Linked DNA regions of Homo sapiens: regions 1, 2 and 4 are each linked to region 3. Evidence: promoter capture Hi-C in 16 types of primary human blood cells and fetal thymus (Javierre and others, 2016). All regions are on one chromosome and are shown on one strand. The core of a region is centred on a gene start or on the middle of the fragment in contact, and the rest is flanking DNA. Distances in the headings are between cores, read along the strand shown. Region 1 overlaps PRKAB1-AS1 (PRKAB1, TMEM233 and CCDC60 antisense RNA 1). Region 2 holds the start of LOC124903033 (a long non-coding RNA gene). Region 3 holds the start of CIT (citron rho-interacting serine/threonine kinase). Region 4 overlaps CIT (citron rho-interacting serine/threonine kinase).

Region 1 (7,805 bases), core at 3,422-5,921, 210 kb before region 3:
TCATCCCAAAACCATCCCCCCAACCCTAGTCCATGGAAAAATTGTCTTTCACGAAACCTGTCCCTGGTGCCGAAAACACTGGGGACCACTGCAATATAGTACATCTGTGCAGCAGTAGTTTTGCATGGTGGCTAAGAGCATAGACTCAAGAATTAAATTTCCTGTATCTAAATCCTGGCTTCACCACTTACTAGCTTTGTGCCATTGGACAAGTTACTTCTCCACTTGTGCCTTAGTTTTTTCTTATGTAAAGTGGGGATAATAACAAAATGCACCTCTTAAAGCTTTATAAGAAGTACATGGCTTAAAGCAAGGAAAGTGCTTAGGACAGTGGCAGGTGTACAGTAAGCACTCTATACATAGACCTCTTCTTGTTATGAAATCTGCAGTCATTACAAAACTGAGGTGGCGGGACATGGTGACACACAACTGTAGTCCCAGCTACTCAGGAGGCTGAGGCAGGAGGATCACTTGAGCCCAGGACTTTGAGGCTGCAGTGAGCCATGATTGCACCTGTGACTAGCCTCTGCACTCCAGCCTGGCAGCATAGCAAGACCCTGTCTCTTTTAAGAAATTTTTTTTTTACTTAAAAATTTTTTTAATTAAAATTTTAAAATGAGGTGGAGCTGTATATGCTGATATGGAAAGATATGCTAAGGAAAAAAAGTACTAATTGCTTGCATTTTTAAAGAAGAGCGATGTAAGTACTTTTTCTATAGTTATAATTATAGGAAATTATAATTATAATAATTGTAACAAAATATACCCCCAAAAAGTATACAAGAAACTCTCAACAAGTTATTTGAGGGGAAAGGAATTAATGATGTAGGAGAAGGTGTAAGGGAGACTTTTGTTTTTGATTCTGTACCCCCTCCCATACTGCTTGAAGTTTTTAACCATGTTCATCCATACTTTAAAATACATACATTTAATTTTTTGAAAGGCCATAGGAATAATCTTTGTTGCTCTTTATTGCCACCTAGGGGATGCTAGGGGCATTGCCTGCCATGATCACTCATTGCTGTTAACCCTATTGACTATTTAATAATTGATTCCACCTTCTTGATTAGTACGTTACACCCAGCAAGTCATGGCTTCCAACTTTCAGATTTTTATTGAGTTTTGTAACAATAAGAAACATGGTTGGGAAATTGATGCTCTTTTGAAAAAAAAGAAAAGAAAAAACAAACATGGATTCGTAGTTAGAAAATTTTTTATTTTTTTAATTTTTATTTTTTAAAATATAATAAAGATGGGGTCTCGACAGCTTGCTCAGGCTGGTCTTAAACTCCCGGACTCAAGCTATCCTCCCGCCTCGGCCTCCCAAGCTGCTGAGAGCCACTGCATCTAGCCTAGAAAATTTAATAGATATTAAAACAATTGAACACCTAGTTTGTTCTCCCTCTCTGAATGACCATTCCAGCTTTATACTTATAATCTAGATCAGCCCAATCCATTGGCCCACCCAAAATGATTTCATCCCTCACTCAATGATCTGTCCGTGGTGGCTAAAATGTTGACATCTGTCTGGTTGCCTGCATTTGAATGCTGGTTTCATGACTTTCTAGTTGTGTGACCTCGAATAAGTCACTTCATCTCTCTGAGCCTCATTTTCTCCTGAAAAATGCAAGTGGTAATAATAGTAGATCCCTCAAAGGACTGTTGGTGGCATTACATGAGTTCATACATCAAACACAATGCCGAGTGCATAATAAGGATTGATAAACAACTTTCACTTTAACACCTACAATCTCCAAATCTCAACTTGATTGTCACTTCCTTCAGCAAGCCTCCTCTGACCTCAGGACTTGGTCACATCCTTCTCACTAGGTCACACTTCTCCTTCTTAGCGTTTGTCACAGAAGACTGTTGGATGATTGTTCGATTAATTTCTCTCTTCCCTACTAGATCGTAAACACTCAGGACAGAGCCTGGGTTTGATTTTGCCCACAATTCTCTCCCCAGTGTCTACCACAGTGCCCGGTGGATAGGAGTTTTTGCCATGAAAAAGTTATTGATAAAGAAATGAATTAATGCAATTAGAAAACTGAAGGCCTCTGAAAAAATCAATATTAACTAGAACAAGTGCCATGAACTAGTTAGGTTCTGATGGGCTAGATGACATGAGTCATGAGACACTTACAGGGAAGGACAGGGTGCGGAGAGGTTTATTTTGTAAGACAGTTGCAGAAAATAAATTGGAAAAAAGATAAACTGTACACCTCTACCATTTGTTCTAGGACTAACCCTATTTTCTTTGAGGTAAAATTCATACAACATAAATGTTAATTTTAAAGTAGACATTTTTAAGTGAACAATTCATAGGCATTTAGTACATTGACAATGTTGTGGAACCACCATCTATGCCAAGTCTTAAAACATTTTCATCATTCCAAAAGAAAGCCCTCATTCCCTCTTCCGCCAAGCCCGTGGTCACCACCAGTCTGCTTTCTATTGACATGGATATATCTATTCTGTATATTTCATATAAATGGAATCATATAATATATGACCTTTTGTGTCTGGCTTATTTCACTTAGCATAATGTTAATATTTTTGAGGTCATCCACATTGTAACATGTAACAGTACTTTATTCCTTTTTGTGATAGAAGAATATTCCACTGTATGAACATACCACAATTTGTTTATAATTCATTTTGTTATTGTTGTTACAGAGTCTTTCTCTGTCGCCCAGGCTGGGGTGCAGTGGCACAATCTCAGCTCACTGCAACCTTCGCCTCCCAGGCTGAAGCAAGTCTCATGCCTCAGCCTCCCAATAAACTGGGATTACAGGTGTGCGCCACTACAACCAGCTAATTTTTTGTATTTTTAGTACAGATGGAGTTTCACCATGTTAGCCAGGCCGGTCTCGAACTCCTGGCCCCAAGTTGATCTACCCACCTCGGCCTCCCAAAGTGCTAGGATTACAGGTATGAGCCACTGTGCCAGCCTACAAACTCATCTCTTGGTGGACATTTGGATTCTTTCCACCTTCTGTCTATTATGATAATGCTGCCGATCCCTGTTTTTTAAAAGTCTCCATGGTTCATCATATCAAGAAGAATGATAATCTCACAGTACCCTGGACCAGAAACCAAGACATAAGATCCAAATTATGATCTATGACCACTAACTTTTTCTATAATTCAGCAAGCTATTGTCCCTCCTCATCTGTAACCTATGTGGTTGAACTAGGATTTTCATGCAATTAGTGTGTCTTGGGAGGTGTTTCTGAGTATTTATTTGGAAGGTGCTCCTAAAAAGAGATAAAGAAAAGGAAAGGAAGATAATCAATGAATTCCTTGATCCAATTACTGCTGTGGACATCTAGGGTGCATTTCCACTGGGGACCTCTGAGACACGGTAGGGAATATATCTTAGTTATACGAGAGCTAAAAAGAAATTATTTAGACAGTTAGTGAGGGTAAGAGAGTCCTCAGTAAGGTTTTTCTTTTAATAAAAACGCAGTCTCCAAATCATTTCTTTTTTTAACAAAAAGCAGCCTGAAAAATCAAGCTGCAAGCATAGATAAGCAAGCTAGAGGCTTGCATAGGTAAATACCAGCAGCTGTGCCAATAGAAAACAGATAGCTGGAAACCAGGTATATTCAACATGGAGGTTCCCTCTTCCCTTTTCTTTGTTGCCACGTGTGCAGATAACATGGCACCAGCCAGGTTTTTTAAAATTCCATTTGCATAATAAAAGATTAGAGTGGGATGACCAGCCTCTTCACGGGCTATGAAAATGGCACATCTGGTCCAACCAATCCACTACACCCCATGTAAATCATATACCATCTCCTCACGCTCATCCCTAAAACCAACCACACCTTGCCCCAAACCAGGGAAACCCACTCAGGACCCCTTCTTCTGCATGAGGAAGCTCTCTTCCTTCTTTCATCTATTTAACTTTCCACTCTTAAACCCACTCCTTGCATGGCCATGTCTTCAATTTCCTTAGCATGAGACATCGAACCTCGGGTGTTACCCCAGAAAAATGACGCTGCTTCATTAGAGTTAGCACATCCAAGGGGCAAGGGAACTGGCTCCTCTGTGGTTGGCTGAGGGCTTCTCTCAGGGTGTCTTCTCTGGTCCCCTTGGGTTCCCACTTGTGTCGACAAAGCTTTCTCCAGAAGGCCCTCAGAGTTGCACCTGCTCACAGTTAGGAAGTTTGGGGCATGCGCAGAAGGGCACATGCAGATGGGGTATGATGGTCCCAACAGCATATGTTAAAGTGATTATGAAACTTTGATATTCAAATCCCTGGGAGCTTACATTTTAAAGAGATGAGACAGAGACAGACTTCCTCTCATTGTTTTCACCTCCGTTGGATCTTTGCCTGGATACTGCTTTAGTTTGTCACTTGTCCTCTAGAAAAGGGGTAGAAAGTGTACATCCTTTTCTCCTCCATTCCTTCAAAGCTCTTAAAAGAGGATAGAGATGCCAGGTGCAGTGGCTCACACCTGTAATCCCAGCACTTTGGGAGGCCGAGGAGGGTGGATCACCTGAGGTCAGGAGTTTGAGACCAGCCTGGCCAACATGGTGAAACCCCGTCTCTACTAAAAATACAAAAAGTAGCCAGGCGTGGTGGGGTGCGCCTGTGGTCCCAGCTACTTGGGAGGCTGAGGCAGAAGAATCGCTTGAACCCGGGAGACGGAGGTTGCAGTGAGCCGACATTGCACCACTGCACTCCAGCCTGAGTGAAAAGAGTGAAACTCCATCTCAAAAAAAAAAAAAAAGAGGATAGACTTGAGGTGAACTTTATTAAGAACATTGTGTTACCTTGAACTGGGCACTTCTCCCTTCTAGGTTTCAGCTTACCCTGTGAGTGAAGCTATTTATTTAAAAAAAACTTTATTGAAAATAAAATAAAGATACAGGAAACTACACAAAAGAAATGTATGGCTTAGTAAGTTACTACAAGGCAAACATGTTAATAATTACCAACCCAGGTCAAGAAACAGAATTTTCTCAGACAACCTAAAAGTCACAAAATGAGGCTATTTGCCAATTAAGGTTGTAGACCAAATGCTGTAGAATGAACTTCTTTTAATTCTATGTTGATGACTCTCTGTCACAATATTCACATCTCAGTGCAAAGAGAACACAAGAATGTCTAGCAAGAAAAGATGGACAAGTTTCTCAAACATTGGCAGTGTTACTTACATTGGCTAGGCAAAATTCAGAAGGCCTGGTGGAAATCTGGTTAAGCCCTAAAAGTAAGCTTGTAATTCTATCCTAGCAGCCCACACACATTTGAGTCTGTCTTAGTCAGCTCAGACTGCTATAACAAATCATCAACTGGGTGGCTTAAACAACAGAGATTTACTTCTCCCAGGTCCGAAAGCTGGAAGTCTAATATCAGTGATATAATTTGGATACTTTTCCCCCTAAATCTTACACTGAAATGTAATCCCATGTTGGAGGTGAGGCCTCCAACATGGTGGGAGGTGACTGCATCATGGAGGTGGACTTCTCATGAATAGTGTAGCACCATCGTCTTGGTGCTGCCCTCACAAGATCTGGTTGTTTAAAAGCGTGCGGCACCTCCTCCCACTTTTTTTCTTACTCCCACTCTTGCCATGTGATACATCAATACATCGGCTCCCCCTTGGCTTCCTGAGGCCTCACCAGAAGCAAGCAGATACCCAGAGCCATGCTTGCTGTACAGCCTACAGAACCATAAGCCAAGTAAACCTCTTTTCTTTATAACTTACTCAACCTCAAATATTTCTTTATAGCAATACAAGAATGGCCTAATACAATCAGGGTGCCAGGATGGTTGATGTGTGGTGAGGGCTCTTTCCCTGAGTTGCAGATGGCCGCCTTCTTGCTTTGTCATCACATGGCCTTTCCATTGAGCATGGGCGTGAATAGACAGCATGCGAGCAAGCTCTCCAGCGTCTCTTCTTCCCATAAGTACCCTGATCTCATCATGGGGGCCCCACTCTCATGAGCTCATCTAACCCTAATTACCCCTTGAAGGCCCCACCTCCAAACATTATAAAATTGGGAGTGGGAGTGCAAATGTATGAATTTTGGGGGGATACAATTTAGTCTACAGCATAGTCCAAATGTGAAATTTCTTCCTCCAGCTACCGATGTTTAGTGAGAACACTGCCTGTTCTCACCACATGTGCATATGTGTGTGGACTCTTTCCTCTGGAGGGCAAGAACTTGGTTTTGTTCACTGTTGTAACCAAGAGTTACAACAGTGCCTGGCTCATAATTGGCACTCAATATTGCCATTGAGTTATTTGTGATCAGAGCCCTGGCTGTTCTTAGATGGGGAGGGTTCTTCAGAACAGTACAAATGTTTGTAGACAGGCCAGCTGGGGAACCAAAGGTCTTTTTGATGAGGTGCCATGACCATGATGTAGTGGGGAGTGGCCAGGTGATCCAGAATTCAGTCTCAGTATGACCTATGATCATCTGAGTGACCTCAGGCAAAACTGTTCGATCTCTGGGACTTAGACTCTTCCTTATATAAAACAAATGGGTTGGTCAGTTCAGAAGTGCTATACTGATTCTAATCCATCCTATGGAGGAGGCCCCAAAACATTATCCTTAACCCTTTTAATCATAAATTTAAGGATAAATGAGATTTTATCTCACTCTGGGTGACTTTTAAGGACTTGAAAACCTACTTCTTTTTGTGCTTGGAGCTGGAGTGAATTTGAAGCCAGGGTTGCGGGGGTGGGGGAGGGGTACTCCTAGCTGTGGCTGTGTTAAAATTGCCCTGGTTTGTTTGGGGGAGAATCTAGGGTATTTATCATTTGTCTTTGCCCTGGTGCCAGACAGACAGCAGTGAGTAGATGATGCCTTTTACACAGCAATGTGCTAACAGTTATACTTCCTGGCACACCTCCAGCCCCCAAGATGGAATGGTCTGACATCCATATCAGCAGAGAATCAGAGAAAGATGAGACGCTCTGATGCTTAGGAAAGTCACAAACCATTGTTACACAGATAAGTAACACAAAATGACCCAAGAGAGACACAGCTGGGACCCAAGTAGACACTTGTAATTGGCGAGTCTACCCTACCCATGATTTTCAATATGGGGTCAATAGCTGATAGATACCAATGTTAGTTTCTTTGTCATGAAATCTTGATACAATGTGGTAAGAGTTTCCAATCAGCAGTTGGTGGCATCCTCAGGATATTGTTGATTGTATTTGACATCAAGGGCCACCCATGCTTTCACTGTTATCTTATTCAAGCTAGTGCAGATGTCTTAAAACTTTCTTCATGCATCAAAGCATCTGCATAGCTCAGATAAAGAATCCACAGCTCATGTGTTCTTTCTTATCTCTCCGGCTGTTTGGGAGAGATTTCAAAACTCAACACCCCACTGTCTCATGTAACCAAGTCAGGGCCACTATTAGAAAAGCAGCTCAAAGAAGATATCCTGGGTCATCCACAGTATCTTAGCTTATTTAATTCAGCAAGCACATTCAACATTTCTGATTATACTGAATACATTCAAATTCTCAGTCATCAGCTTCAGGAAGACCCTCCTGGCTCCCATCCCTTTTCCTGGCTCCCATCCCTTTTCCTGGCCTGGCTTAAGTCCCTTCTGGGCTCCCACAGGATCCCTTACCTAGCTATATTATTGCTTTTCTGTGGGTCGGTGCCAGCCTGTACTGTATTAATTCCTTTGGGGCTGGAACCATATCTTATTTTTTTAAATTAAAAAGTAGTACATCCTCACAATAGAAAACTTTTCAAATACAGAACTATATAAATGAAAAGTGAAAGTCCCTTTTCTGTCTGCTCCTATTTGCAATCTCCCTCCTCTCCCC
Region 2 (7,322 bases), core at 2,943-5,442, 190 kb before region 3:
GGCTATTATGAATAGAGCTGCAGTGAACGTGGGAGTACAGATATCTCGACATGCTGATTTCATTTCCTTGGAGTATCTACCCTGTAGTGGGATTGCTAGACCATGTGGTAATTTTAGTTATAACTTTTTAGGAACCTTCATGCCATTTTCCATAATGGTTGTACTAATTTACATGCCCATCAGCAGTGCACTAAAAGTAGCTTTTAAGTGTTCTCACCACAAAAACATGGTAAGCATGTTCTGCGTGTGTTGATGAGCTTGATTTAGCCATTCCACAATGTGTCCATATTTCAAAACAACATATTGTACATGGTAAATATACATAATTTTATCTGTCAATCTTTGAAATTGATTAATTTTTTAAAAACCCCTCTTAGGCTCACACAGCAACTGGCTGAGCCAGCAGTCACATCAGGCTTGGCTGGTGCCAGATCCTTGGTAGTTGGTGCTCTCAGCAGCCACCCTGAATGGCCTCCCAGCGGGAGCTTGCTGAGTATTTGTTGACACAATGATTGGCCCAGCCTCTGGGATCCTAAGCCTACAGCAGTTGTTCTACACTTTTTTCCATTTGAATTGCATTTATAACAGTTGGGGGTATACAATGAAAAAATAAATCCCGATTTCTGGCTTCTCTTAAAACATAGGAAGGTGCGGCGGGCAGCTCTGAGTGCCAGCCCGGTGGCAGATTTTCCAGAGTAGTGGTGTCTTGCCCAGGTATCCGTTTCATTCTTCAGGTTCATTGAGTCTTACAGATACAAGTTTTGAATCCATTGCTCAGGAGCGTTTAGTGCAGATGGTCTCTTCCTGTGTTCTCTGAAAGTGCTGTTAATAGCTGCTTTCTTCCTGCCCCACCCTCCATAAGAGGACAGGGCCGTGGCCCACACTTGAAAGAGGCCGGGGTAAATGCCTGGCCAGAGACACACACCGATGCCTCCAGCAGGCATGCAGGGAGCTCCCTTCAGGTCAGAAGGCGTGACCTTCATCTCACCTGTCGTCTTGGACAAGCCCTTGCGCTGCCTGATTTGGGAAGAGAGGTCGGCCTGAGCGCTGCCTCCTGTCCTTTGATATCTGGCACTGGGAAGTAAAGGGGAGAATCTTGGTTTCCAAATCCCAAATGCTCACCGCTGCCTTTGTTCCCTCACAGTGTGATCCAGCTTTGCTTCCTGAGCCCAATCACGTCATGCTGAACCACCTATACGCGCTGTCTATCAAGGTAATGACATGTCTGTCCCCATGAGAGCTGTGTTGCCCAGTGTGTGCTCTGAGGACCCCCAGCAGTGGAATGACCTGGCGGGACTGACTTAAAGGGCAGCTTCCAGGGTCTGGCACAGGCCATCAGGCTCAGGTTCTGAAGCTGGCCCGGGAATTTGTGGTTTTATGAAGCCCTTAATGATTCTCATGTCCTCTGAGGCTTGAGCCCCTTAGTCCAGCCTTTGATCATTTCCACCTTGTTCCTTAGGATGGAGTGATGGTGCTCAGCGCAACCCACCGGTACAAGAAGAAGTACGTCACCACCTTGTTATACAAGCCCATATGAAGAGCTGGGGGCGGATGGTGGCCCAGGAGACAGCACACCACCAGGCTCCACACGTGCATGCTTTCCCCAAGAGGGAATGGACTGTACATTGCTCATTTCACACTCTTCAGAAGACATTTCATACCTGCCCTGGTCCTGCTTGAAGGTTTGTCCAGGCAGAGCAGCTCCTGCAGCGCCTCGGTCTGTGACAGTCCTCCTAGCACCCCCATGGCTTTGAGCCTCGGGGACTCATCAAGTCCAAGAAAAGAGGGAGGGGTGGCAGAGGATCTGCAGCCCTGGCCCCGCGGTGCATGAGGCTGGGTGCAGTTCTAAACCTACATTCTCGATTTTTCTTAAGCCAAAAATGAATGCTAACTCCTTTGCCAGTAAAATTCTGGGAAACAGGGACTGAGGCCACACATCATTTCCAGTCATCTGTGTGTTTTTAAGGCCAGCCACTTGTCCCTGTTGAGGCCTGGCTATGGAACTAAATACAGTGTTGGTCTTGCCTGTCCTTCAAAATCAACAACAGATTGTCTCTCGGCTCCAGGGAGGTGTCATTTCTATAGAAATTAGAAGCTTTCTGATTTCTAGATGAGGTTTTACAATTGTTTCTTACAGTCATGTGCACTAAGTACTCTTTTTGTAAGCAGAGGTGGCTGGCTCTGCAGCCTTAAGGCCATTTTTTAAGTCACCACGTCTAGAAGTCACATGAACTCTGCTCAGCAATAATCTGTTCTCAGAACAGACTTTTCAACCTGCTGCCGGATTTCTCCATTCAGCTGGATGATCCTCAGGACTGACCAGTTAGCTGGCAGGTTGTCCAGCTTTTTATTCCAGTCATAATAGGTGACAGTGTTAACCGTGAAAACTTGAGAGGCACTCTGCCCTCTTCCCTATAAAATCACACAGCGTGATTTTACAAGGTCCCGTGGCACCTTGCTCAGGACCTCTGCCCCTAGTTAGCAAGACTGCAGCAGTTGCTGTTGCTTATTCTGAAAGGAATGTAGAACTTGACAGCAGCCTTCTGAGTCTGGGTCAGGAAGATGTCCTTTGGACCAAAGCAGACTTCTTTATACGCAGCTCAGTTTCCCGGGAGTCGCCACAGATGTACCCACTAGCCCAGGTTGCTGTGAGTCAGCGGAAGCTCCCGTTATGCCCTTTGCTCCTGGTGGGAGAGGGAGGAGTGAGCTCCCTGGGTTCCAGTATTTACTTGGTATACCTGAGTTTGGGGGTACCCTTTTTTGTGACTTTTCAAAACAGTGAATTACTGTCACCTTGATGGACAAGTTTCAATAAAACTTTGTAAAAATAATTGGACATGTGCCTGGAGGAGCTCTGATTTTATTCAGTCCCTTGGAGAAGAGACTGGAACTCTTCGAGAGTTGCGTTTCAGTACCGTTCTTGTGGCTCTGAGCGGACAGGGCTACTCCAGCTGCCCAGGCCTGAGAACCAGTCCTGTGACTCACACCCATTCACACAGTTTGGAACCTTAAGGGACCCCTAAAACTGAGCCCCTCTGAACAGCTCAAGTCACAAGGGGAAGCTGAAGAGGGGTAACAGCAGAGGCTCCTGGCTTCGGCCAGTTGTTGGTGTCCCCAGGCCAGAGGGTTTGTTTCCTTTTGCTCCTAAACAAGCCCGGTGGGACAGCCTGGGATCGTGACCCTGGCGTGTGAGAGAGCAGGACGTTGTGGAGTCAGAGCTGTTTTCATCCACTAAAAGAGGCCGTGTCCCTCCTCCAAAAAGGTGGAAGGTTATGGGTGTTCCTTTAAGCCTTCTCAGGTATCAGGAAACATTTTAAATTTAGCAGAAAAGCATGCTAATGAGCTCTACCCACTGGTGCAGAAAACCCAAGCTGAAAATGCTATGTAAAATAAGACTGGTTTACTGGAGCCAGTCACCCCATGAGTTCTCCAAGCCCTGGGGCCACAGGGGACTTCCAGGTGAGGTCACTGCTGAGATGATGGAGGAGACACAAAACAAGAGGACATGGTCAGAGACAACACATCTCTGTGCGTATTCAAAGGATTTCATTTTCTTTAAAAAGCACATTATAGTCGGAAAGCCTGCCCACCAAGTGAAAGCCTCCATACCCAAGAAGCTAAAGGTTAATGGTGATTTTACAAAGGTGGAAAAGGAGACCTTGTTTTGCCCAAATCACAGGGGCAAAGCCATATGTCAAATCGTGTCCTATGACCAAGTAATCCTTTCTTCATTAGCATTTCCTTTATGGGTGAGGACTTAGTTAAAGCTTAACTCAAATTGCTTTTCAATGAAGATACATTTTTCCCTCTAGAAGCTGATATACAGATGAATTTATAGAGCCAAATTAAAGCCTAAAAAATTACTAAAATGTAAATCAGTATTGCAGGGCTAAGGCCACAAACAGGAAGTCAAAAGGCCAGACAAGAAAATTGTGCCTGCACCTCAGCTAGCTCAATTAGGAAATCTCCAAGGCTCCTAAAAGACTGAGAGAAAAAACCTGGAACATCATGATACGATCTGTGGCTGAGGTCAGAGACTGAACGAGCCAGTCTAGGAAAGAACAAAATTTCATTTTAATTCAGTTCCTTTTGTATGAGCACAGTTTCACTTTCAAGCATTTACTTCCCATATCTGATCCTCCTCTGCTATTGTGTCACCTTCAAAATTCAAATGTCCCCAATGTGATAGTATTAAGAGGTAGGGCCTTTAAGAAGAGATTAGGTCATGAGAGCCCCTCCTCTCATGAATGAAATTGAGGTTCTTATCAAAGAGGCTTCAGGCAGCATTCAGCTCATGTGCCCTGGCACCTTCTGCCATGTGAGGACACACAGCTTTTCTCCCCTGCAGAGGACCCAAGCACAAGGCGCCATCTGGGAAGCAGAGAGTAGCCCTCACTAGACAAGCAAACCTGCCCATGCCTTAATCTTGGACTTCCCAGCCTCCAGAACTGTGAGAGAATGAATTTTTGTTCTTTATAAATTACCCATTCTCAGGTATTTTGTTAAAGCAGCACTAAATGGGCTAAGACATCCACCAATGTTTACAAATGGTTTGAATGAATTGATGAAGACCCAAGACATGGACCACTCATCAAATCATAAAGTTTCTGAGGAATAAAAGCTTCAGCACTCATCTTGGCCAGCAAATTAGTGGAGAAACAAACTAGAGCCTTCTGCCCTGGTATGCCAACTATAATTGTCTTCAGGAGAAAACATGGAAGTTGTAGATACGTATACATTTCTTCTAAAACCCCAGTCATCCCTATTAATTGTAAAAACATCCACAGGATCCTCCTAAGAGTCATCGTCACTATAGTGAGTCAGACATTTGGAGAAGATCCCAAAAGCTGGAGCAGCAGCCGGAGCCCCGTCTCTGGGACCCCAGCCACTGGCTCTAGAACGAGCCACCAGGCTCTGCCCTCAGGGTGGGCTCCCACAACTACATTGTCGTCTTGTCTTTCATACAACTAAAGAGCCTTTCCCCAGATGAGGATGCCAGCTCTTACTGCTACCTCCCCCTAAAAGAATTCACCCATCCCATCTGAAATACTCAGTGGCCAGTGAGAACAGGCCAAGATGTGTATACCCTTGGTCGATTTTTTGTTTCCTTTTTTGTGGCTCTCTGAAAGACAGCCTGACTTATGCAGAGTAATAAAGTCATTTTCAAGGTTCTTTCATCTACCTCTAACAATCTCTCTAGGGCAAATAGAGTTCCGTTCATCATTAACAGACTCAAGGGAAAACAAAGTGATCAACACTGGACTCTATTTCCACTACCCCCACCCTCCCCAGCTTCAGGAAACAGCTTCAGCATTTGAGTGGGCAAATAAGAAACTATTTTTCTCATTTAACACTGTAGGCCTAGAGCCACGGTCTACATGCTTTAGACATCATTAGCAGTATTTAAATTGCCAAGGAAGACATGGGACTAAAACTAGAACAGACCACGGTTTCTCAACCTTGGCACTATTGAGGCTTTGGGCCAGATAATGCTTTACAGTGGGGGGCTGTCCTTTGCCTTGTAGGATGTTGAGCAGCATCTCTGACCTCCACCCATTGGATACCAGTAGTACTCCCGAGTTGTGACAACCAAAAATGTCTCCAGACATTGTCAAATGTCCTCTGGGAGGAGGGAAGCAAAATCTCCCCATGGCTTAGAACCAGTGGAACAAGCCAGTGTAACCACTGTATTCTGAGAATGGAATCTGAGCTGGCCCCCACGAATGCTTTCTATAGCAAATCACATTCAAGAGGTCCAATTCTGAAGACAGTCCTATTAAGCAAATTCTCTTTTGGCCTAACCCTCCAAATCCTAAAGTTCCATGGTTATGGAATTTGCTATGCAATCAACCTCTTTAGTCCGGTGACAATTAAGTTGTAAGCGCAGAAAACATGACATCTAATTTTGTGCTTATGAAACAGGAGTGGCCAGCATGAAGAGTTAGGCCTCATTTTACGGTGTGGCTGTGGAATTGGTTGGTTGTTTCTTTCGGGCTATTCCTTAGGGTTCAAACACTCTTCCTTGGCACTTCCTTTTGAAACCAAACTATGTTGACTTAGCTTTGGAAGTTTTCTGTGACCTCCCACAATCCTCTAGACAATCACTGAAATGCTTGGTTGATATTTAACAGATGTTTTTCTAATGCTACAAGGAAAGAAAGGTTCACATTTCACCACTTCATCTTCTGAATTATTTTCATTCTTACAACTACGACCTTGTGGCAGATTTTCATGCCCAACAGTAACATCGAAAAGAACAGAATTGCATCTGTGGTTCCCATCACAAGCAACAAAGACAGATACGACTCTGCGAGTCCAATTTTGACCGTGGTCAGACGACTTCATTAGAAAATAAAAATTCAAAGACTACAACCCACAGGAACCATGAAAACAAAAACATCACCATTTGCCAAAACCCGTTTGTCTGGATCGAGCAAGTTTATACTAACAAACTAAAGAATGAGAAAAAATTTATCTTGCAGACTGTAAAAGTTCCTCTACTTAAAAATGGAAGTATTTTCATTTTTAATTACCTTTGATTTGAATTCTTCTCTACAAAGAAATCTACATTATTAAATTGTAGTTGGCCTTTTAATAGATGAAAGATATCTTGAGCTGACCTGTTCCTGGTTAGCTGATTATAGAACTGGGTAATCCATTCTTCAGTAATCCTTTCCAAATGTCCTGTGTGACTGCTTGAAGAGCTTTCCAGCTCTGCAGTCCTATAAAATGACCTTAATAGCCAGTTCATGGTTCACTGGAAGTATTGACCAAATTTCCACAGTCAAACTCTTGGCAGAGAATGTCACCAATCGCTTAATTCCAGGATAGCAGTGTGCCCTAACCACCACGTGGCTTCCTCTATCCCACTCCAGAGGAAAACCCTCCCCACAACGTAAAGAAGGTCCCATCCATGATAATACACCTACACTGACACGCTGGTGATAGTTTTTCTTTCACAGTCTCTCAAAAAAAGAAGAGGTCATTGCACTAAAGCACACATTAGTTTAGATCATTGCTTTATTTCACTAATTGTTCAACAACAAAGTTCATTCCTCTCAAGGTGGATCTTGAATCATTCCTTGTGTTCTCTTCCTCGTTCTGAATAAAAAAGGTAATGAAGAAAAAGCCTGTACTTTTGGAGACCTAGAATCTTGATTGATGCTAATAAGCTTTTGACAGCAATTTCGTGTTACGGTATATCCTGCTGGCATCTTGGTGGTCACACGGAGCTCCCCACCCTCCAGTGAAGATGGCTGTCCACAACTACCACCATTGAAACCAAAAGTAAGTGTTGAAAAATGCACCTTTTACAATAAAAA
Region 3 (7,889 bases), core at 5,003-7,502:
GAGATCGTGCCACTGCACTCCAGCCTGGGCGACAGGGCGACAGTCTGTCTTAAAAAAAAAAAAAAAGTTACGAGTCCTGGGCTATACTACTGAAAGACCTCATGGAGAAGAGAGGCCATGTGAGAAACACTAAGGTGCCCCAGCCAGCAGTCAGCACCCACATGTTCCAGTCCCAGACATAATCCCAGCTGAATGTAGCCCCACAAGTGACCCCAGCTGACATCACAGGATGAAGCAGAACTACCTAGCTGAGTCCAGCCAACCCACAGAATCCTAAGAAAAAATAAATCATTGTTGCTTTAAACTTTGTGAGTGCTTTGTTACACAGCACTTGATAACAGAAACAGACCGGCTGCATTTGAATCACAACAGCACTGGAGAATTTAAGAAAAACAAACAAACAAACAAACACATTCTCTGGTCCTATGCCCCCCTCCCCCACAACCAAATGAATTAGAATTTTCCAGACTGTAGCCTAGAATCTGTTTTATTAACAAGTTCCCCAGCAGGGAGAGGTGGCTCACACCTGGAATACTAGCACTTTGGGAGGCCAAGGTGGGAGGATCACTTGAGCCCAGGAGTTCAAGACCAGCCAGGGCAACACAGCGAGATCCCATCTCTACAAACAAACAAAAAAAAATTAGCCAGGTGTAGTGCCATGGTCCTGTAGTCCTAGCCACTTGTGAGACTGAGGTAGAAGGATCACTTGAGCCCAAGAAGTAAAGGCTGCAGTGAGCCAAGATTGTGCTGCCACACTCCAGCCTGGGCAACAGAATGAGACCCTGGTCCCCAAGAGAGTCAGACCTCAATCAGGTTTGGGAAGCACTGCATTCAAGGCCACCATATCTGTCACTTTAGTAATAGTTGCCAGTAACTCAGAAAAATAAAATGCTTTGTTTCTTCTATTCTTCAAGAGTTTAGATCAATTAAAGCAGGGGTTCCCAAATATAGTACTGGTTCTTAACAAAGTTTTCAACAGCCTGCAGTGAAATGAGAAAAAATGAACACCACATGATATCTTTTTTATAAAACTAAATGTATTCAAATTTAAAAATGGTCCTTTATTCTGAGATGATGTTCTTCCTGTCTTGTTGTTTCTTAAAATGCCCTTTATGAAATACAAGGGCCAGAAAATAATAGGTCTTTCTTTTTATTTTTTTTTTATATATCCTTACTTGGCAAAATAAAAAGTTGGAAAACCTGTGTCTACCCAGCAATTTGGGAAATTTTGCTGGCTCAGAAAGTCTGACAATCACTGACCTCGAACATGTCAGGAAATCCTGTTGAGTAGAAGTAAAAAAGACAAAATGACACTCAGTCTAAGGTACTCACCTGAATGGAAAACAAAATTGCTACTGTATCTCAACCTCATTCAAACAGCACTATATGGGAAAAGAACAAACAGCATCCTTACCTGATAACTCAAGGCAAATGATAGGTATATACTATACTTGCAATAATAGCTTTACTGGGCAGGGGGATCTCAGCATTAAAAAGAGATGAACTGAGGGTTTACCCATAAGTCTTCCTGTTATAATGACTAAATACAAGATATACTTAATAAATTCTGACGTGCACAGGTGCTGTGGCCCAATGGCTATGTGGTCAGCCTTTGGAGTCAGACCAACCAAAGATGGAGTCTGATCTTGGCCTCATCTGCAAAACCCAACGTGTATGATCTTGGGCAAGGCCTTACCTACCTCCATATCTGTCTATATCTGTTGCCTCCTATTTATGTATTTATTTAGAAACAGGGTCTCGTTCTGTTGCCCAGGCTGGAGTGCAGTGTTGCAATCTCAACTCACTACAACCTCTGCCTCCGGGGCCCCAGAGATGCCCCCACCTCAGCCTCCTGAGTAGCTGGGACTACAGGCACACACCGCCATGCCTGACTAATTATTTATATTTTTTGTAGAGATGGGGTTTCACCATTTTGCCCAGGCTAGTCTTGAACTCTTGGACTCAAGCAATCCACCTGCCTCAGCCTCCCAAAGTACTGGGATTACAGGTGTGAGCCACCACACCTGGCCTGTTGCCTCCTATTTAAAGTTTAAATTAAAAATAGTCCTTACCTCTGTCATGAGGCTGAAGTGAGATACTCAGAAACATGCCAGTTCTATGCCAGACACATTGGAAGCCATAACTATTACATAATCAGCACACTATAAGCCCTTAATAAGTTGGAAATTTTTTTCCTTTTCTTTTTTTTTTTTTTTTTAATTTACAGGGTCTTGCTCTGTCGCCTAGGCTGAAGTGCTGAAGTGCAGTGGCACAATCTTAGCTCACTGCAACCTCTGCCTCTAGGGCTCAAGTGATCCTCCTGCCTCAGCCTCCCGAGTAGCTGGGACTACAGGCACACACCATCACAGTCAGCTATTTTTTGTGTTTTTAGTAGAAACGGAGGGGCTCACCATGTTGCCCGGGCTGCTCTCGAACTCCTGACCTCAAGCAATCCACCCACCTCAGCCTCCCAAATTGCTAGGATTACAGGCGTGAGCCACCACGCCCAGCAAGTTGGAGATATTTTAAAGTAGCATGATAAAGGGGCTGAAACGTGGCAGCACTCCAGCCATCTAAGGTTAAAGACAGACTATTCATTTGTGAAAGATATGTCAAGACTTAAAATGCTGATGGGGATGGTCCCACAGAAAAACCTAAGCTTTCAATTTGTTTCCACTCTCATCTGTTTAAACACCCAATACCAATATTTTGGAAAAAAAAAAAAGTTATCAAGAATACTTCATCATTCATCATCTTACAGGTATCCTACATAACTACCTTCCCAAATATAATTACTATTAAGGAAACAAATTTAGTATTAATATTATAACTAATACTATTCTATGCTGAGTATTAACAATAATTACCATTTTTTATAAGGAGTTTACTAAGAGCCAGGCAAGGTGCTAAGTGCTTTAAATCGAATATCTCATCTAATCCTCACAACAACCCTGTGGATTAGGTACTACAACCTCTATGTTATTTTTTTTGTTTTCTTTTGTTTTGTTTTGTTTTGAGATGGAGTCTTACCCACTCTGTCGCCCAGGCTGGAGTGCAGTGCACCATCTCGGCTCACGACAACCTCCGCCTCCCGGGTTCAAATGATTCTCCTGCTTCAGCTTTTCAAGTAGCTGGGATTACAGGTACATGCGACCACCATGCCCAGCTAATTTTCTATATTTTTAGTAGAGACAGGGTTTCACCACGTTGTCCAGGCTGGTCTCGAACCCGTGACCTCAAGTAATCCGCCCGCCTCAGCCTCCGAAAATACTGGCATTACAGGCTACAACCTATTTTAAAGAATAGCAAATGGACTCAGAAAAGGTAACTGACTCACCCAAAGTAATGCAGCTAACTAGTGCTGGGACTGGGATTCAATTCTAAATCTTCATGGTCTCTATTGTCCCCCTGACTTACGAATACATAAATCAAACAAGGATTTCTACTTCACCAGTGTTCCACATACATCAGAAACAAAAGAATTAAAAATCTATTTGGAAGTAATCTTATGATATTAAGTTTTAACGCATCTGGGGTGACAGAAATGTGTATCTTGAGAGGAATGAGGGTTAAACAGGTGTGGTATTCATCAAAACTTTTTTTAAAATCTTAAAAAATACCATCCTGACTAACACAGTGAAACCCCGTCTCTACTAAAAATACAAAAAATTAGCCGGGCGAGGTGACGGGCGCCTGTAGTCCCAGCTACGTGGGAGGCTGAGGCAGGAGAATGGCGTGAACCCCGGGGGGCAGAGCCTGCAGTGAGCCGAGATCGCGCCACTGCACTCCAGCCTGGGCGACAGCGAAGACTCTGTCTCAAAAAAAAAAAAAAAAAATCTTAAAAAATAAACATCCCTGCAATGAAAATGAATAGGATTATACCCACAGAAATTGTAGTTTTAAAAAGCATCTTTGTTCATTTATTTTTCTTTCTTCAATAAAAGGACAAACTTGCCCTGGTACAGGGGCTTATGCCTGTAAGCCCAACACTTGCAGAAGCTGTGACAAGTAGATCACTTGAGCCCAGGAATTCGAGACCTGCCTGGGCAACATGGTGAAACCTCATCTCTACAAAAAATACAAAAATTAGCCAGGTATGGTGGCACACACCTGTGGTCCCAGCTACTCAGGAAGCTGAAGTGGGAGGATCGTTTGAGCCCAGGAGGTCAAGGCTGCAGTAAGCCGTGATTGTGCCAATGCACTCCAGCCTGAGCCACAGAGCAAGACCCTGTCTTGCAAGCAACCAATCAATCAATGAATGAATAAACTTTAGTACAGAAGTGTAAAGTGTGAGAAATATGAAAAGATCTCCCTTCTAAGGCAAGTTCAGCTATCTACTTCTGCACAGTGTCTTTTTTCCAAAAGAATCAGTGCATATAAAACTCTAAATAGAGGGCCAGGTGCAGTGGCTCACACCTATAACCCCAGTGCTTTGGGAGGCCAAGGCAAGAGGCTCACTTGAAGTCAGGTGTTCTATATCAGCCTGGGCAACACAGTGAGACCCCATCCCTACAAAAAATTAAAAAATTAGCCAGGCATGGTGGCACAGGCCTAGAGTCGACAGAAGACCTTGTTTCAAACAAAACAAAACAGAATTTCCCCTAAAATATTATCCCTGGTCCTATAATAAAAGCAAGCTGGGCACGGTTCATGCCTGTAATCCCAGCACTTTAGGAGGCCAAGGCAGGTGGATCACTTGAGGTCAGGAGTTCGACCCTAGCCTGGCCAACATGGTGAAACCCCGTCTCTACTAAAAAGAAAAATACAAAATTTAGCCGGGTGTGGTGGCAGGCGGCTGTAGTCCCAGCTACTCTGGAGGCTGAGGCAGGAGAATCGCTTGAACCCAGGAGGCGGAGGTTGCAGTGAGCTGAGATTGCACCACTGTACTCCAGCCTGAGAGACTGAGACTCTAAATAAATAAACAAATAAATAAAAGCAAAGGTGAGTGACAAGGAGATTCCAAGGACACACACAGGTGAGCAAAGTTGGCAGGGTAGGCTGTTACCTGGAAGAACAGATTCAGCCTGGAGGCCCGGCTGGCAATGGGTTCAGCAGCACCAGCATCCAAAGGATTCCGCGCTCCATATTTGAACTTCAACATCTCCCCACTGGCGCTGAAAGGATATCAGAAAAGTCAAGTGTGTCCTATGTTTTGAGCAGGAAGGGCCTGAGAGATCCTGATCTCCCTCAAGATATCAGGGACAAGGAGGTGAAAATCAGCTACCACTCCAGTTTTAGGAAGCTCAGTCTAATCATGGAGATTAAACACCAGATTTTAACTCACTGTGACAGGAGATGATACACTTATCTGACATACTCTCTTACTTATAAATGTGTTTATTATCTCCCCCCTTAGAATGGAAGCTCCACAAGGGCAGAGATGTTTGCCCCCATGCAGTGGGGGCACACATAGCCTGGCACACAAATAGGTGCGAATAGTTATTAAATGAATGACTGAAATAAGCAAAATATATAGCTTGTTGTAAGGTGTTAAGTGCTATGGGGTAAAAACAAAATCGAGCAAGAAAAGGACAATGGGGGTGAGATGGTGCAATTTTTAGTGTGGTCAAATAAGACTTCACTGAGAAGCCACCATTTGACCCAAGACTTGAAGACCTGAAGCGAATGACCAGCAAGCCATGTTGATATCTGGGGAAAGAAAGACATCCGTGGCAAACGAAACAGCCAAGCCAAAAGCACTGAGGCAGGACCTGGCCTCTCCAGCAACAGCGAGGCCAGACGGACTGGAGCAGAGCGAAAGAGGCGGGGGCATCATGAGGTGATGGGGTGGGCACGGGGTATGAATACGCTGAAACAGAGAGGTTAAGTAAATGGCTAAGTTCACGCAGATAATAAGGAACCGGCCGACTACACTGGGCAGAATAATGCAGTTAGTGCTGACAGGAGGCAGAGCTGAAGAGACAAAGCACTCCGCCTGGTTTAGGGGAGGAGCAAGCCTCCTGCCCCAGCACCACTCGGCTGACCCCTCGGCTCCCAAGGAAGGTGGGCGCGCGCACAGCTAGCCCCGGAAGACCCTCCAGGCCTCCCGCAGCCCTGGGGGTGGAATCGCCGCCCTCCCCGGGGCGGGAGGGAAACCCGGGACTTGTATGGGTGGAGGCGGCCCTCCCCTGGCCTTGCAGAGCCGGGTGCGGTAGAATTGGGTCTGGGGGATCAGACTCACGCTCTGCGAACCCCCAGGTCTGCGATCTGTTCCGCCCCGCGCCTCCCGCCGCCGCGTTTGAACCCGAGGAACGGCGCGGGCGGGTCTCAGCCGTGTTTGGACCAATCAGCGTCTCCGCTCCTATGATAGACATGGGCGTCTCAGCCAGGCCCCGCCCATGTCCCTAAAGGCATGGAGGAAAGTGAAGGGGAGAGCCAATCAAATTGCATCTTCCTTTGACTCGCGACCAACGGGAAAAAGGGAAGGGCAAAATCAGCAGGGCAGGTCTTGGAAGTTTGAAATTGGCGGTTACGCAGGATGCTGCGTTTGAGGACGCGACTGTTAATCTAGGATCCCTGAGGAGGTCGCCAGGGCGCTGTCCCCTGCTCTCGGCCACCTGCAAGGAGGAAGGCAGCCAGGCTGCTCTGCCTGGTCTTCTTTCTCTCTCATGTGGCTAAGGTAGAAGTACTTGTTACCTGGGGAAGCCCAGTGGTCCTCTGCTACAGCTGAGGCAGCGAATGTTTTGAGCTTGACTTCAACCTACCTTGATTACTCTATCTCCGGGCTGACTGCCCTGCAAGGAGTTGGTGACAGTCATTGAGACTGTCTGAAAGGACACTTTAAAATAAATTATAGACGAGATACTTAAACAGGCACTTCACCAAAAAGGAAATCCAGATGACCAACAAATGTGTGAAAGTTGTCAACCTCGTTCATAATCAGAAAATATGAAAAATAAAGTCACAGTGAGAAAGAATAACACTCAAATTCGAGAACAACAACAACAAAAGGATGTGACAGTGTTTGCGAAGATGTGGAAGTACACACACTTATACAGTACCCGTAGGCGTGTAAATGGATACAATCTCTTTGAAATTTGAAAAAAAAGTTTGGCATTATTTGCTAACATTGAAGATTTGTGCATTCTATGACTATTGCTAGGTGTAGTTTCTCTACCTAAGAAAAACTCCTATTTATTTATTTATTTTGAGATGGAGTCTTGCTCTGTCTCCCAGGCTGGAGTGCAATGGCACGATCTCGCCTCACTGCAACCTCCACCTCCCAGGTTCAAGCTATTCTCTTGTCTCATCCTCCCAAGTAACTGGGATTACAGGTGCATGCCACCATGCCCAATTGTTTGTATTTTTAGTAGAGATGGGGTTTCACCGTGTTGTCCAGGCTGGTCTTGAACTCCTGACCTCGAGTGATCTGCCCACCTCGGCCTCCCAAAGTGCTGAGATTACAGGCCCTGAGCCACCACGCCGGCGAGAAACTCCTACTTATGTACACCAAGAGATGTGTATAAGAATACAAAATAGTGTTCGCAAAAAACTGGAAGTGATATAAATGTCCATCAGCAGTAGAAAAGACAAAATTGTATATTGCAGTGTTTTCACAAGCAATGAAAAAGAATAAACTGCAACTAACCACAATGACATAATGAGTCTCAAAACAAGGCCTAATGAAGGAAGCAAGAAAATAACATATGATTCCATTATGATTCCATTCTTATAAGTTCCAAAACAGGACAAAACAAAGCAACATTGTTTAAGGAGGGATGTATTAGGTTGATGCAAATCATTGCAGTTTTTGTCATTGTTTAAAGTAATGACAAAACCATAAAGAAAGCAACAGCCAGAATAGTAGTTACCTGGGGTTGGGATGGAGGCCTTTCAGGGTGTTGGGGTGCTGCTGTGATCTATTTCTTAACCTAGGTAGCAACAATATG
Region 4 (6,814 bases), core at 2,515-5,014, 180 kb before region 3:
CTGGCCTACATGGTGAAACCCCATCTCTACTAAAAATACAAAAATTAGCCAGGCATGGTGGTGTACACCTGTAATCCCAGCTACTCAGGAGGCTGAGGCGGGAGAATCACTTGAACCCAAGAGGCAGAGGTTGCAGTGAGCTGAGATGGCACCACTGCACTCCGACCTGGGCAACAGAGGGAGACTCTGTCTCAAAAAAAAAAAAAAAAAATTATAATACATCTATGGAATTCTGTGCAGCTGTAAACATGCATGAAAAGGCTCTCTTTGTACAGATATGAAAGAATGCCCAAGGTACACTGCTCAGTGCAAAAAGCAAGGTTCAGAATCATGTGGGAAGTATTCTGCCTTACTGATTTTTAAAAAGCTGGAAAAAAGAATATATATATTTTATGTGCTAGTATTTGCATAAAGTACTGGAAGGACAAGAAACTCATATGAGCTTTTTTTTCTTTGGAGGAATAGCGATGGAGAATTTGGGAGATGGACTCTCTGGGTGAGACTTTTCATTGTATACCTTTTAAAACTGATTGTAAACATCTTCAAAGAATTCAATTTTTAAAAAGACTAGGTTCGGGCTGGGCGCGGTGGCTCATGCCTGTAATCCCAGCACTTTGGGAGGCCGAGGCGGGTGGATCACCTGAGATCAGGAGTTCAAGACCAGCCTGGCCAACATGGTGAAACCCTGTCTCTACTAAACATAGAAAAAATTAGCCGGGTATGGTGACAGGCGCCTGTAATCCCAGCTACTTGGGAGGCTGAGGCAGGAGAATCACTTGAACCCGGGAGGTAGAGGTTGCAGTGAGCTGAGATTGTGCCATTGCCCTACAGCCTGGGCAACAAGAGTGAAAATCCGACTCAAAAAAAAAAAAAAAAAAAAGACTGGGTTCTATTTTAAAAAAAAGACTGGGTTCACAGCTATTTAGACATTGCTGGTCTTCTTAATACTCTATCTCTGCATGACAGTGTCACTGAAACTAGAGCACACAGGACTGGAAATATTTTCTGCCTTAAAGGGAAAAAGCACTATTATTCCTTGTGGCAAGACTTGGTATTAGACTTTTAAAGTCATGGGCTCTGGTATGCGTGCCCCGGTGCAGTTCCCTGGCCTTGAATCTGGGCTGACTCTGCGGTCTGCTCTAACCAGTAGAGCGTGGTGGAAGTGAGCACGCTTGCCAGCTTCCGCTTCTATATTCTTGGAAGAAGCCAGCGTGGAAAGCAACAAGGCCTCCAGCCACCAGCCGCAGCTAAGCGCCCACATTATGGCCAGCACTCATTGCGTGCCATGTTTGTGAGCCTGTCTTGGGCTTTCTAGTTGTCCCAGTGGCCCTGCTGATACCACATGAAGCAGAACTGTCCAGTCAAGCCACGGAGTTGGGGCCAATAATAAGCTGTTGTTTGAAGTCACTAAGCTTTCAGATGGCTTGTTATGCAGCAAGAGAGAAACAAAATAGCCTCGAAGGGTATCTGGGCCACGACGGCATTTCAGAACATTCACACAGATACGTATGTACATACTTGTATGTGTATGTGTGTTTAGTCTTTGATCCAACAGTTCCACTTTTAGGAGCTTATAATCAGGGGGTGCTATCTAACAAGTGCAAAAAGATTAGTACAAGGATGTTCATCGTAGTGTTGTTTACACTTACAAACAAAACGGGCATGGCCTTACTGCTTTGCCTAATTAGAACTGGTTAAGTGAACAGGTGTTCAGCTATGCCATGGGACACTCTGCAGCCTTTGGAAATGACTGAAATAAATCTACAGGAATTGGGCTCCTTTCTATCATGAGAGCCTAGCAAATATTTCCCAGGGCTGGGACTGTGGGCTGGTGAATCTGGCGTAGGCAGCTCTTCATCGAGCCTCAGAATCTTTCCATGAACAGTTCTCCGGGTGACTGTTACACATGGCACTTGGTATCTAATGGAATTCACATGCACAGTGCTTAGGCCAAAAAAGAAAAAAATTTCCACTTGCAATTGCGGTTTTTTTTGTTGTTTTTTTGAGACAGAGTCTCGCTTTGTCACCCAGGCTGGAGTGCAGTGGTGTGATCTCAGCTCACTGCAACCTCCGCCTCCTGGGTTCAAGCAATTCTCCTGCCTCAGCTTCCTGAGTAGCTGGGACTACAGGCACATGCCACCATGCCTGGCTAATTTTTGTATTTTTAGTAGAAATGGGGTTTCGCCATGTTGGTCAGGCTGGGCTCAAACTCCTGACCTCATGATCCACCCGCCTCGGCCTCCCAAAGTGTTGGGATTACAGGCGTGAGCCACCGCACCCGGATGCAATTCTTTTCCAGGACACCAGCTGCTGGCAAAAGAGAAGCCCCCACACTGAGCCTCACGTACCAAAGGCCAAAGGTAAGCGACTCCACTTGAGATCGTCTGTGCGGCTACGTCTTCCGTAAGAATCCACGAACACTCCAAATTCTGCAAGGTGTCAAGAGCACGTGGGCATTAGCACAGCCAAGAGCAGGGGCATCAGCGACACACATGGTGATGGAAGAATGAGGAGCAGAGCCCAGGGACCCCTGGCCAGATGGGACTGACTGTGAAAACCAGAGGCCCTCTGCTGAGCCAGCTCTCAGCTTTATTAAAAATGAGGGACTTTTTAAATTTAATTTATTTTAATTTATTAAATTTTATTAAAGAAAGAGAACTCAAGTGAAAAGAAGGAAAGGAATAAGAGGAGGAGAGGGAAAGAGAAAGAGACAGAGAGAGAGGGGAATGAAGCGATCCGGAGGAAGGAGGACAGACAGGGAAAGACGGAAAGACTCAGGAAAGAAGGGAAGGGGGAGGGGAGGGAGGGGATGGGGAGGGGGAGGGGAGGGAGGGGATGGGGAGGGGGAGGGGAGGACCCAAGAAAGAAAGAAAAGAAAGAATGCAACAAAGAAAAGGACAGATAGAAGGATGGAAAGGGAGGGGAAGGGAGGGGAGGACGAAATGAGGACAGAGTAAGAGAAAGGAAAGGGAGAGAAAGAAAGGCAAGGGATGGATGAGGAAAAAACTGCCTGCTCTTTGGAGAGAATGTGATAAAGTTAGACCACGCTAGTATCTGGTGATGGAGAGGAGCATCCCCAAGGGGACTTGGTGGTGCTGGAAGGACATTCTCTGTACCCCTAGTCAAACCTATCCTGCCCCAGAGCTCCATGTACCCTCCTCCAACCCCTCATGGGTCCCTAGTGTCCATGAGGACCCAAAAGGGCAGTGGGCGCAGCCACGACTCACCGTGGAAACACAGCAAGTACTCCTCTCGCTGCCCTGCGCTGTTCACCTGCACGATTGAGACAGGGAAGCTGTTGGAAGAGGCGGCAAACACAGCAGGTGCCAAGGAATGGTCATTCTTATCCAGGAATTCTGTAAAGGCAGGCGAGAAGCGGGGCTTCAGGAGTGAGTTCTGAGTCTCAGCGCGGCCTGAGCCATGGGTGGGTGCGAAAGTGGAGGTGGGTCCTACCCTCGAGCGTGTACTGCTTCATGTCGATTTCGTAGAATTTATTGGTTCCAATGAGGATACTGTAATTGGTGAAGTGGATACAGCTGCAGGGCTCTGAGGTCTCTATCTCCTGAGACATGAGAGCAGAAGAGAAGGATGTGAGAGGTAACACAGGGCAGCCAAGGTCCACAGCTGTTCTGCTTCTGCCTACAGCATCTAGCCAAGCCCTGGAGAACATTGTCACCAAGCTTGTTCACGTTGTCATAGAGAGCCATTCATCTTTTTTTTTTTTTGGAGACAAGATCTCGCTCTGTCACCTAGGTTAGAGTGCAGTGGTGTGATCATAGCTCACTGCAGCCTCAAACTGCTGGGCTCAAGCAATCCTCCCACCTCAGCCTCCCAAAGCATTAGAATTACAAGCTTGAGCCACTGCACACGCCCCATTCACCTTTCATGCCTCTCAGGATGAACAGTGATCCATTTGTTTTCTCTTCCTATTGTTCCATGCAACCCAAAACTAAGAAAACAAGGTCAAACTGCAGCCAAAAAAAGGTGGGGTCAGAAACACCATTCCAGGCTGGGCGCAGTAGCTTACATCTGTAATCCCAGCACTTTGGGAGGCTGAGGCAGGTGGATCACCTGAGGTCAGGAGTTCGAGACCAGTGTAGCCAACATGGTGAAACCCCGTCTCTACTAAAAATACAAAAAATTAGCCAGGTGTGGTGGTGTGCACCTGTGATCCCAGTTACTCAGGAGGCTGAGGCAGGAGAATCGCTCAAACCCGGGAGGCAGAGGTTGCAGTGGGCTGAGATAGTGCCATTGCACTACAGCCTGGGCGACAAGAGCAAAACTCTGTCTCAAAAAAAAAAAGAAAGAAAAGAAAGAAACAGCATTCCAATGAAGAGACAGATCTTGAACAATACAACATTCTTATCACAGGAAAAAAAAATACAGGAAAAATACAACAACTATTAACAGTGGTGGTCAGCAGCAATGGTTTTGGTTTCCTTCTTTTTGCTAGCTTCTAAGTTTCTAGTTTGAACCTATATTACCTATGCAGTCATCATCATGATCATCATTATTGTCATCTTAATTACCTGCTTCCTGATTATTTTTAGTTGTTTTTAGGCCAATCCTAATGTCATCAAAAAACCAGGCACACCTATTCAAAATGTGTGGCCGGGAATCATAAAGAAGCAATGATTTCTGAGAATTTTCCTGAAGCTAACAGTTCAAATTCTAGTGAGCATTATCATCATCACTGAATATTTCTTGGTCACCTACTAAGTATGGGAAAACTTTGAGGAAGCACGATATAGTGAAATGCTAGGAAAAAAAATCAAACTTCAGTTCTGGCCTCAACTTTGTAACTGAGGATTTTCTGCCAGCCTCAGTTGTCTTACCTGAAAATTGGGAATAACTGTCTCTGCTTTTCAGAACTGTGGTGAAAGGTGCTTGTAAAACAGCCAGTTCAGTCCCTTACAGGGTGGGCACCCAATGAACACACCAACTAAACTAACACCACCCTGCCCAGAATGGAACAGTTTCTCTAACAGGTAATGACCCTTATATATTATTCACCCTTCATTTCACTTTTTTTTTTTTTTTTTTTTTTGAGATGGAGTCTTGCTCTGTTGCCCAGGCTGGAATGCGGTAGTGCAATCTCGGTTCACTGCAACTTCCACCTCCCACGTTTATGCAATTCTCCTGCCTCTGCCTCCCACGTAGCTGAGATAACAAGCACCCGCCACCATGCCCGGCTAATTTTTGTATTTTTAGTAGAGACAGGGTTTCACCATGTTGGCCAGGCTGGTCTCAAACTCCTGACCTCAAGTGATCCACCCTCCTCGGCCTCCCAAAGTGCTGGGATTATAGGCCTGAGCCAACATGCCCAGCCTCATTTCATTTTTGAGACTAATCATGAAAGCACCAGAAATATATCAGGCTTAGGAGGAGTGGGACACTCCGAGGTAGGGACATCAGACAGCATTCTCCAGAAGCCAGGCAGATTTAAGGATCTAACACACATCTCGTCCATATTGCAGTCATCATCACAGCTCACTCTGCTCCGAAAAGAAGGAGCTCCCTAATTACATATCAAAATACTGCTAGCACTGGTTATTGCAGAAGGTTATATTAATAGACACCTCTAGAATTTGAGAAAGATTCTGATAAGTGCTACCTGGGACTGCTAGGATCTTAGAAAGAGCCCCCCCTTTTTTTTTTCCACTGGTTTTTCCTATCAGTCAACTTTCTGTTCTAACAAAAGGCTGAACTCACTGGGCTGGATGGGGAGGCAGTTCGCAAATGTGAGAAGAAAAGCAGGAGGGAAACCGCAGCTACTAGTGGCCCTGGGGAATCCTCCACAAAGGAAGGATCTCGCTGACGACAGAGGTCACCCCAGGCTAAAGGCCCGCAGGGTAGAAGGAACCCAGTACAGGCTGTGTCCCAGGACAGTGCACTTTCCACACTGGCTCGCTGAGAGAGCAGGACTGGCTTTCCCACGTTCAACCAAGGCAAGGCCCAGGACTTACTTTCCGGATGCAGTATTTGCTGAGGTTTTCGTTGTAGCGGAGAATGACGACTTTGCTGGGCATGGCTGCACAGATGCAGAGCCCGTTCTCAATCTGAAAAGCAACCAAGAAAAGAAAAAGACTGTCACCAGTGTGATACCGGCTGTGGGGCAAAACTAGGAAAAGCTCTCAGGCTCAGCGCCATTGATGATTCAGACCAGATCATTCTGTGTGGTGGGGGGAGGGCTGTCCTGGGCATCGCAGGATATGAGCAGTATCCCTGGCCTTGACCCACTAGATGCCTGCAGCACTTCAATGTGTGACAATCAAAAATGTCTCCAGCCATTACCAAATGTCCCCTGGTAAGGCAGAATTACCCCTGGTCGAGAACCAAGGCTTTACCTGGGATCCAGAGAAGGCCTCAGGGAGGCACCTGACACCACACACCTTTCCCACACATGTGCCTTCTGCTGGAGACAGAATCTTTTGACAAACTTCCCTTGTGAGGAGGGAGAAGACAGAATGAGGGAAGGGAGAGGAAAGGTGGTAGAGACTGCTAAACGAATTTAGAGAAAATTTCTTTTCTTCTGAGACGGAGTCTCACTCTGTCGCCCAGGCTGGAGTGCAGTGGCATGATCTCGGCTCACTGCAGCCTCCACCTCCCGGCTTCAAGCCATTCTCCCACCTCAGCCTCCCAAGTAGCTGGGACCACAGGTGCGCACCACCATGCCTGGCCAATTTTTGTATTTTAAGTACAGATGGGGTTTTGCCATGTTGGCCAGGCTGGTCTCGAACTCCTGGCCTCAAGTGATCCGCCTGCCTCGGCCTCCCAAAGTGCTGGGATTACAAGTGTGAACCACCACACCCGG

Evidence for each region. Contacts are between HindIII fragments. The CHiCAGO score rates a contact against its expected background, and 5 or more counts as called.
Region 1: a contact is called between a fragment that was not itself captured here and the fragment with the promoter of CIT in region 3, in 1 of 17 cell types (endothelial precursors). The highest score is 5.8, in endothelial precursors.
Region 2: a contact is called between a fragment that was not itself captured here and the fragment with the promoter of CIT in region 3, in 2 of 17 cell types (M1 macrophages and M0 macrophages). The highest score is 6.6, in M1 macrophages.
Region 4: a contact is called between a fragment that was not itself captured here and the fragment with the promoter of CIT in region 3, in 1 of 17 cell types (M2 macrophages). The highest score is 5.3, in M2 macrophages.

What each region holds. Positions count from the first base shown.
Region 1 is chr12:119,658,500-119,666,304 of GRCh38, forward strand. The region is part of intron 1 of PRKAB1-AS1 (PRKAB1, TMEM233 and CCDC60 antisense RNA 1); the gene reads right to left. Among named protein-coding and RNA genes, the nearest start is that of PRKAB1-AS1, 5.7 kb to the right of the region's middle. RefSeq lists an enhancer at 7,202-7,346 and a cis regulatory region at 7,266-7,283. The HindIII fragment of the contact is 1,101 bases long and covers 4,122-5,222 here.
Region 2 is chr12:119,678,789-119,686,110 of GRCh38, forward strand. LOC124903033 (a long non-coding RNA gene) reads right to left here and starts at 6,698. Exons shown (of 2, transcript XR_007063485.1): 1 at 6,534-6,698. It overlaps PRKAB1 (protein kinase AMP-activated non-catalytic subunit beta 1), which reads left to right. Exons shown (of 7, transcript NM_006253.5): 6 at 1,145-1,213; 7 at 1,460-2,831. The coding sequence ends at 1,537. It overlaps CIT (citron rho-interacting serine/threonine kinase), which reads right to left. Exons shown (of 48, transcript NM_001206999.2): 48 at 7,003-7,322. RefSeq lists enhancers at 419-1,618, 3,214-3,273, 3,444-3,573. The HindIII fragment of the contact is 854 bases long and covers 3,766-4,619 here.
Region 3 is chr12:119,871,068-119,878,956 of GRCh38, forward strand. CIT (citron rho-interacting serine/threonine kinase) reads right to left here and starts at 6,253. Exons shown (of 48, transcript NM_001206999.2): 1 at 6,182-6,253; 2 at 5,006-5,114. The coding sequence starts at 5,101. RefSeq lists an enhancer at 5,643-5,702 and a silencer at 5,933-6,012. The HindIII fragment of the contact is 6,661 bases long and covers 2,658-7,889 here.
Region 4 is chr12:119,698,397-119,705,210 of GRCh38, forward strand. It overlaps CIT (citron rho-interacting serine/threonine kinase), which reads right to left. Exons shown (of 48, transcript NM_001206999.2): 41 at 5,967-6,059; 42 at 3,454-3,562; 43 at 3,228-3,356; 44 at 2,349-2,429. Among named protein-coding and RNA genes, the nearest start is that of MIR1178, 12 kb to the right of the region's middle. The HindIII fragment of the contact is 172 bases long and covers 3,679-3,850 here.